Linked DNA regions of Homo sapiens: region 1 is linked to region 2. The links are contacts of gene promoters, found by promoter capture Hi-C in blood cells and fetal thymus (Javierre and others, 2016). All regions are on one chromosome and are shown on one strand. Each heading gives the region's core, a stretch centred on a gene start or on the middle of the fragment in contact. The rest is flanking DNA. Distances are from core to core; before and after follow the strand shown. Region 1 overlaps GATA4 (GATA binding protein 4). Region 2 holds the start of DEFB136 (defensin beta 136).

What was found. The method cuts DNA at HindIII sites, captures the fragments that hold promoters and counts their contacts. A CHiCAGO score of 5 or more calls a contact.
Region 1: a contact is called between a fragment that was not itself captured here and the fragment with the promoter of DEFB136 in region 2, in 16 of 17 cell types (erythroblasts, neutrophils, non-activated CD4 T cells and 13 more). The highest score is 8.6, in erythroblasts.

Annotation. Positions count from the first base shown.
Region 1 is chr8:11,730,858-11,734,819 of GRCh38, forward strand. All of the region lies in intron 2 of GATA4 (GATA binding protein 4), which reads left to right. Among named protein-coding and RNA genes, the nearest start is that of SNORA99, 27 kb to the left of the region's middle. The HindIII fragment of the contact is 1,336 bases long and covers 929-2,264 here.
Region 2 is chr8:11,973,346-11,977,508 of GRCh38, forward strand. It overlaps DEFB136 (defensin beta 136), which reads right to left and starts at 1,254. Exons shown (of 2, transcript NM_001033018.2): 1 at 1,200-1,254; 2 at 592-773. The coding sequence starts at 1,254. The coding sequence ends at 592. The HindIII fragment of the contact is 18,049 bases long and covers 1-4,163 here.

The sequences.
Region 1 (3,962 bases), core at 347-2,846, 240 kb before region 2:
GCCTGACTTCCCCGGCCAGTGCCCTCTCTGTTTGTCTCGTGTCATCTGCCTTGGGAGCTCACATTTCAGGGCATGTGGCCCAGTGCCCACTGAGGTGCAGCCCGCGTGCCTGGACGGCTCTGTCAGGGCGAGCTTCTCGGGCAGTCTTCCTTCCCTCTCCATTTGTTGCTGCAGGATTCTCCTTTGGTCCTGACTTTTCTGGTTTTTCATTTCCTTACCTGTAATCTGTTCACTCTTGGTCAGCAAGAGAATAATATTGCAGCTACCACTGCCTCTGAGTTTCCTCCTGGAAGACTGAGTCTTATGAAGACCCGGTTTTGAGGAGTTTCCTGGCTGGATCAGCAAAACCACAGTGATCCACATTTGATTGATGTATTTTGAGTTTACATTTATTCCCAATGTTTATTTTCTTGTAAAAATGAGCGCATTATTGATTAAAAGAGAGAGACACAATATCCAAAAGGTGGAAGTAGCCTAGGTGTCCATCCGTGGATGAATGAATGAACAAATGTGGTCTGTGTGCTCAGTGGAGTATTACTCAGCCTTAAAAAGGAAGTCTTGCACTGCTACAACAGATGAATCCTGAAGACATTACGCTAAGTGAAACAAGCCAGTCACCAAAGGACAAACACTCTATGATCCCACTTCTGTGGGGCCCCCAGAGCCGTCAAATTCATGACGACAGAAAGCAGAAGAGGGGTTGCCAGGTGGTGGGGCCAGGATCGGGGTGCGGGAGGATGGGGAGTTAGAGTTTAATGGGTGCAGAGTTTCAGTTTTGCACGATGAAAACAGTTGTAGAGATTAGTTTCACAACAGTGTGAACACATTTACTATCACTGAACTGTACACTTAAAAATGGTTAAGATGGCTAATTTTATATGTATTTTATCACAATTTAAAGAAGAGAAAAATGGAGAGGCAGTGTACAAGCTTAGTAAGTAGAAAGTAAATTGTGAAAACCTTTTTCCTAACACTTCATTCTATTTGCTTCTTTGGCCAAAGGTGTAAGTAGCATTGATGGACGATTAGGTAGAACTAGCCATCCAGAATTGGTTCTACAAGATTGCCTTTCTGGCTCTTCAGTGTTTCTCTTTGCCCAAGCCTCAGTGTTATCCTGCTATCACAGCAGGGCTGATCACTAAGGAGAAGGTTATCCTTGGTGAGGAGGTGGAAAATGGTGATTTTTAAATGTTGTACTACAAGCAACCGAGTTTTGATCTGCAAATCTATCATATTTATAATCTGCATTAAAATTTTAAGTCACATTCATAAAATATAGGAGTGGATGCACTTTTAAAATTTCTTTGGAATGCAAATCAGATTGGATTAAAGCTATTAACCATGTGTAATAAAAGACTGTAGATTTTGTAGCAGCTTCATGCTCTACCTAAGATGTCTGCCAAGTAAGTGAAATGTATTTGTAAAAAGGCAGATGGAACTACTAGACGTATTGTCATCGAACTATTCTCCAGGGGCACTGATTTCAGTGCAGGTGCTTTAGATGGGAGGAAGGCTGAGAGCAGGGTCTGTGGGGCCCCTATTGCAGAGAAGCTCCGTTTCATCTACTTTATATTTGATTTGTAAATGTTTGATTTGCTTGGCTAAAGAATTCTGAGGCTAGAGCAACAAAACAAAACAGAAGGAGAGAGGTTGGGAAGAAAACGTGAAGTAACACCAAAAAACTAACTGCTATTGCAAAACAAGGATAAAATAGATAATTCAAGATAGATGTGATTGATTGCCATAAAGATTCATGAACACGTCAGGTGAACCCGAGTCTGGAGGCTAGAGGAAGAGGAGCCGACGGAATTTGAGGAGGATGTGTGTCTGGTCTGAAGAGGAGGTAGAGACTTCCTGCGAAGGCTAGCAGAGTAAAGGTTTGCTTTCTCCCTTTCCTCCCCGAAGACCAGCACATCAGATGAAAAGAACCCCCCAAATCAAGTAAAACTTTTATCTGCAGTGAAATTAAGAGATAACTCATATCCCCAACTATAGAAAACTGCCGAATATAATATAAATCCAGACCACATGGAGGGAAAGACTTCGAGAGCTGGTCCATACCTCTCAGCTCTCCTGCCTGTTCGCCTCCCAAATGCCCAACCTCCAAATACCATCACATGTGGGTTAGGGTTGCCAGGAGTAAATTTCCTTGTTAATAAAATGAATGAGATAGGAAAGAAAGCGGCAATGTTTTCATTATTTGCAGATAAAATACTGGTCAACTTCACTAAACAAATGTAAATTCCCTGTGGAGGGAGCTATAAAGCTTTACTGAAGGGCATAAAAGAAGACATGAATAAATGGAGAAAGATACTAGATCCTTGGATTGGAAAAGTTGGCAGCATTCTTTATTCCAAACTCCCTCAAACAAATCTATAAATTTAACACAGTCTCAGGAAACATCCCAGCAAGATTTCTTAAATACAACGTGTCCAGCTGATTATAAAATTTATATGAAAGAGTTATTGTACAAGAATAGCCAAGATAATTTTTTAAAAGGAGACTTAAGAAAGGGGAACTTGCCTTATCAGAAATCAAAACAAACTAGAGACACACTGGCACGGAAGCTAAAGCAGTGATGTTCATTGCAGCCCTGTTGTGTGTAGCAGTGAAAAATTACTTGCTGAAATGCAGCCAAGGTATTAGGAATGGGGAGGCTGTGGCATAAAAAGATTGGCATTAGCATTGAATCCTTTCAAATATCATGTACAGCTAAACAGCTGTGAGAATTATGGAGTAGAATGTAAGTGTTATGTGCCTTAACAATGCCAAACTAATAAATCCTCTTCGAAGAGAGAAGTAGATCTGTGCTGATATGGAAAAATGTCTAAACAGATATGCGTCCCTGCAGAAACAGCTGCAGAGGAGTATCCATGGTATGATCCCACGTGTGTTCAGCACACTGCTCTGTTCTTTCCTGTACTGAGGGAGCCCATTTCTGGTGAGGATTATTTCCACCACCCCGATGACACAGGCTTGGCTATGAGACTTGCTTTGATCAAGAATATGTGACTCGAAGTCACTATGCAACTTCCACACAGAGGCATTAAGAGCCATTACGTGGTTCTGTCATTACTTTTTGCCCCCTGCCACGAGGCTGGCATGAACCACATAGAGGTTTTGCCTTCGGCCTGCATGTCCAATTGAAGCATACATATAGAATTTCGGCCAACTTGCAGCTGACATGTAATGTGAACAGCAAACAAATAACTATTTGTTTGTTACAGCATAACAGCTTAAACAGCACCAAACCAAGCATAAGTGTTTTATACATATACATTTGAACATGGCTAAAATATATCTCCTATATCCTAGATACACTTTTCTCATGTGTATAAACAGACATGTACAAGGATGCCTGATGAAGCATTGCTATTACAGCAAAAAACTGAAAACAATCTGAATATATATCAGTAAGTGTCTTAGCCAGTTTAGGTTGCTGTAACAGAATACCATAGAATGTGTGGCTTTAACAACGCTTATTTCTCAAAGTTCTGGAAGCCAGGAAGCCCAAGATCACGGCACTGGCAGATTGGTGTCTGGTGAGAGACCCAAGCCTGCTTTGCAGAAGACCATCATCTCACTGCATCCACTCATGGGGTGGGTGTAGGGAGATATCTATTCTGTCTTTTCTTTTCTTTTTTTTGAGGCAGAGTTTTGCTCTTGTTGCCCAGGCTGGAATGCAATGGCGCAACCTCGGCTCACTGCAACCTCCGCCTCCTGGGTTCAGGCAATTCTCCTGCCTCAGCCTCCTGAGTTGCTGGGATTACAGGCATGCACCACCATGCTCGGCTAATTTTTGTATCTTTAGTAGAGATGGGGGGGTTTCACCATGTTGGTCAGTCTGGTCTCGAACTCTTGACCTCAGGTGATCCCCCTGCCTCGGCCTCCGAAAGGGCTGGGATTACAAGAGTGAGCCACCGTGCCCAGCCTCTGTCTCTTCTTATAAGGGTACTAATCCC
Region 2 (4,163 bases), core at 4-2,503:
TTCTATGGCCAGAATATATCATTGCTTGGGCCTGTGAACTTGTATTAATCAATAGAATTTGAATTTTTATTATTATTTTTTGAGACGGAATCTCACTCTGTTGTCCAGGCTGGAGTGCAGTGTCGTGATCTCTTTTCAATGCAACCTCCGTCTCCCGGGTTCAAGCAATTCTCCTGCCTCAGCCTCCTGAGTAGCTAGGATTACATGCACCCACCACACCCGGAAGATTTTTGTATTTTTAGTAGAGATGAGGTTTCACCATGTTGGCCAGGCTGGTCACAAACTCCTGACCTCAAGTGATCTGCTCACCTTAGCCTCCCAAAGTGTTGGGATTACAGGCGGGCAGGCGTGAGCCACTGCGCCTGGCCTGAATTTGAATTTGAAAGAGGAATGAGTGATTGGAGATGGGAGGGTAGGAAAAATAACAGGGGATGCATTTCATGGCAGTGCTGCCTTTACAAAATGTTTCTGGAATTTTGCCAGTAAATTGTCAGAATGTGGTCCTCATTTCTGCCCATGGCTCACTTACGAGCTCTAAGATCCTGACACACAGATTAGGAGTGTAGTACTTTGAGCCATTCACATATCCTTTTAATGAACCCATGGATCTTTGGCTTGCGGGGGTTGAAAACGTGTCATATTTTTACAGCAAGACAGAATATTGTGGCAGAACGCAATCCACCTGTATCCTGGCGGACACCCGAAGAAACATACGGCTTTCTGGCTAGTGCAGGTGCGAACTTTGACTCCATCATTCCCAAACATACCTTTTCCTGAAGCGGGGAGAGACCACAGAAAAGAAAAATCAATCTTAATGAGGCTGGGAGAAATCCTAGGCTTGCCATCACCTCCTGGTTGATGGCTTGTTAGTTGTGATTTACCTCACCTCTTATCACAACTCAGCAAGGCAGATAAAGCTCAGGGTAGCCAGAGGCATTGGAGGGGAGATAGGAATCTGGGTGGCTGCACGATCTGTGTGCACAATGACATCCACCCCCGTCCCCGGTGCACTGGCAGATCTTCCAGCTGCAGCAACAGCAGAGCAGGGCAGGAGCTGGGGTCCGCTCACCATGCCCCTAACATGGTGGCCCATTTGATATTGGTGTCCTGTTGCTGGGCTTATAGTTAGAGGGTTTTTTAAGCATCTCAATCTTTGGGAACACCCACTTTTATGTTCAGACTCACGCCCACTGTCTTACCTGAAGGCAGTAAGATCACCAGGAAAAAGAGTAATGCAGAAAGACAGAGGTTCATGGCCGAAGAGGGCACAGAGTTGGAACTCCCAGTGGTGTCTGCCTGGGAGGCTCCTTTATAGAGCTGGGCTGGGCTGCGATGGGTGGGGCTGGACCCTGGCCTCACTCTTCCTGGAGGGGCAGACTGAGGAGATCACAGGGTTCTGCAGAATTCGAGGAAGAAAAGGCCCTGGCCTTTCAGTGCTACCTCCTTTTCTACAAACCGCGGGAAAACCAGAGACTCAGCTAAGGCTGTCACGTTTCCTGATAGCAGAATAGGAGAAAAGACCAGGATCCCCATGCCTAGGCCTGAGCGCTTTCCCTCTGCCTTCAAATGTACTTTGATATAAACATGGCAGTGAAAATGTCTGCTCTGTCTCTCCTTTCCTCTGGAGCACCACTGAAAGCTCAGGAGCGCAGAGAAAGGGTGTTATGAAACACAGGCTGAATTTAAGCCTGGAAAGACAGTTCCGACACACGGAGTCTCTCAAATTGTCAACCAGTGGCCTGACCAAGAGAAGGTAGGGGCTCAGAACTAGTGGAGAAGGGACAGCTTCCTTGTCTAGCAGCTGACTTATTTACCTGGCTGAAGGCAGATACTGCAAAAAAAAAAAAAAAAAAAAGTCCTGGAAAAGTTCACTGATGGACTTTGTTCTCCAAATGGCTGGTATGAAACGTTGGCTAGGATGAGGGGACTCTGAAGGTTCTAGGAGAGATTTCTTTTTTGGAGTTGAGGAGTTGAAACTCTCCCTTAGAAGAGTCGGTTCAGTGCTGTGTTCAAGGTTGGATGCACAGTGTCCAGAGTGGAGCCAGACAGGGCTTCTCTGGAGTGACAGAGACTCAGCCCTGGAGAAGGGCCCTTAGGCCTGTCTCTCTTGGGGTGATGAGGGATGTCTGAGGGTGAAGATGACACTAACTTTGATTTTGTTCTGACCCTTAAGGCAGGCTTTTACGCAGGCAGCCAACAACCACAGGGCTGTGTGTGGTGTGTCAGTGGAGCATGGTATTCCTGGGTACACTCTGCTTTGCAGGCCTAGACCCTCAGATGCATTATTTAGCATCTCAGCCTCAAGAACTCCTCAAAAAGTGCATTGGAAGGTTATGCGTGGTTTTTTTTCAGGATGAAATGAGATACAGCTTATAAAATGCTTTGCACGCACACTGCCATACAGTAGGTACTCAATATTATTATTATTATTGTTTTTTGAGACAGTCTTGCTCATCACCCAGGCTGGAGTGCAATGGCCCAAACTCGGCTTACTGCAACCTCCATCTCCTGGGTTCGAACGATTCTCCTGCCTCAGCCTCCGAAGTAGCTGGGACTACAGGTGCCCACCACCACACCTGGCTAATTTTTGTATTTTTAGTAGAGATGGGGTTTTGCCACGTTGGCCAGGCTGGTCTGGAACTCCTGACCTCAGGGGATCCACTTGCCTCAGCCTTCCAAAGTGCTGGGATTACAGGCATGAGCCACCCCACCCAGCCAATACAGTAAGCACACATATTCTTAATTTTCTGGTTCTTGCTTACTAATCTTTCCCTACTCCCAGGTCATAAAACTATTTCCTATATTATCTTTCTTTTTTCTTTATTATTTTTCTTTCTCATTTAGCTCTATAACCACCTGTGATGATTTCTGTGTATGGTATAAATTAGGGGTCCTATTTAGTTTTCTTTTCCCCTATGGAAAACCAATTGTTTCAAGACCAAAAATTATTGAAAAGATTGTTGTTTCTCTACTGTCTAGCTGTGCCACCTTTGTTTTAAATCAGGCTCCACATATGCGTGAGTCTGATGCTGGGAACCTTAATCTGTTCTATTGTTCTATTTGTCTATACTTGCACTAATGCCATGCTGTCTTACTGCTATAGCTTCATAATAAGTTAATAAACTTTTAAATAAGATCTATCTATCATCTATCTATCTATCTATCTATCTATCTATCTATCTATCTATCTATCTATCTATGAGTCTGTCTCCAACAGAGCCAAATCTTCCCACTTATCTTTTTTGTGTGTGTGAGTGTCTTGGCTATTTTTGGTTCTTTTCATTTCCATACAGATTTTAGAATCAGATGGTCAAATTCCCCCAAACAACAGTTCATTATGCTGTTAGTCTTGATTTTTCTCTTTTGTGATGTACAACCTCCTGAATGCCTGTGGGCTGTTGTATTTGTGGATTGAATACATCTTGTATTCATGCTGTAATGAACACTTTACACGAAATAAAGTTGGAAAAGATTCTGCTTCCTAGACAACAGTAAAATCCCAAGGACCTGTCTCCCCATCCCATGAATCTCTTTGGCTGTGAATAGCATCAGTGGTATCTGTAATTTCCTCAGTGGCTTGGCTGCAGTTGCTAATGGAAGCTATGGTGAGGCTTTGCTGGGGTTAGGGATGCCAGGTTGGCCACTCCTCAAGCCCTTGTAGTGATAATGACAGACAATGCATACGTGACCTTGGGTCACTGGATGGTGTATGTGGGCACCAGTGTTAGCAGGTCCAGGTGGGCCAATCCCAGGCAGATTTCTTGGTACTGGCAGTGGCAGTGGAGGGCTGGATGGGTGGGTAGGTTCTCAGGTCCCTGGGCAGCATGAATAGTGTGAGTGAGGGTAGCAGTGGTGCAGGATAACACTCAGGCTCCCAGGTGCACTTCCTAATGTTAGTGGTGGCTATGATGGGCTTGGCAGGCTAGTCTCTAGGCTCCTAGGCAACACATGTGGGTGGCTGTGGTTGGTGGTGTTGGCAGCAGGCTAGGTGGGCCCATCTTCAGGTCCCTAGGAGGAGTGTACAAGGACCAGAGATGGTGGAATGGATCGGGTAATTCCTAGTCTTCAGATGGGGTGCTCAGTATCTGGGGGCATGACGTCAAGGCTTTGGTGGCGTGCAGGAGTGTAGGCTGTAGTAGGTGGGGCTGAGCGATCTGTGGTGG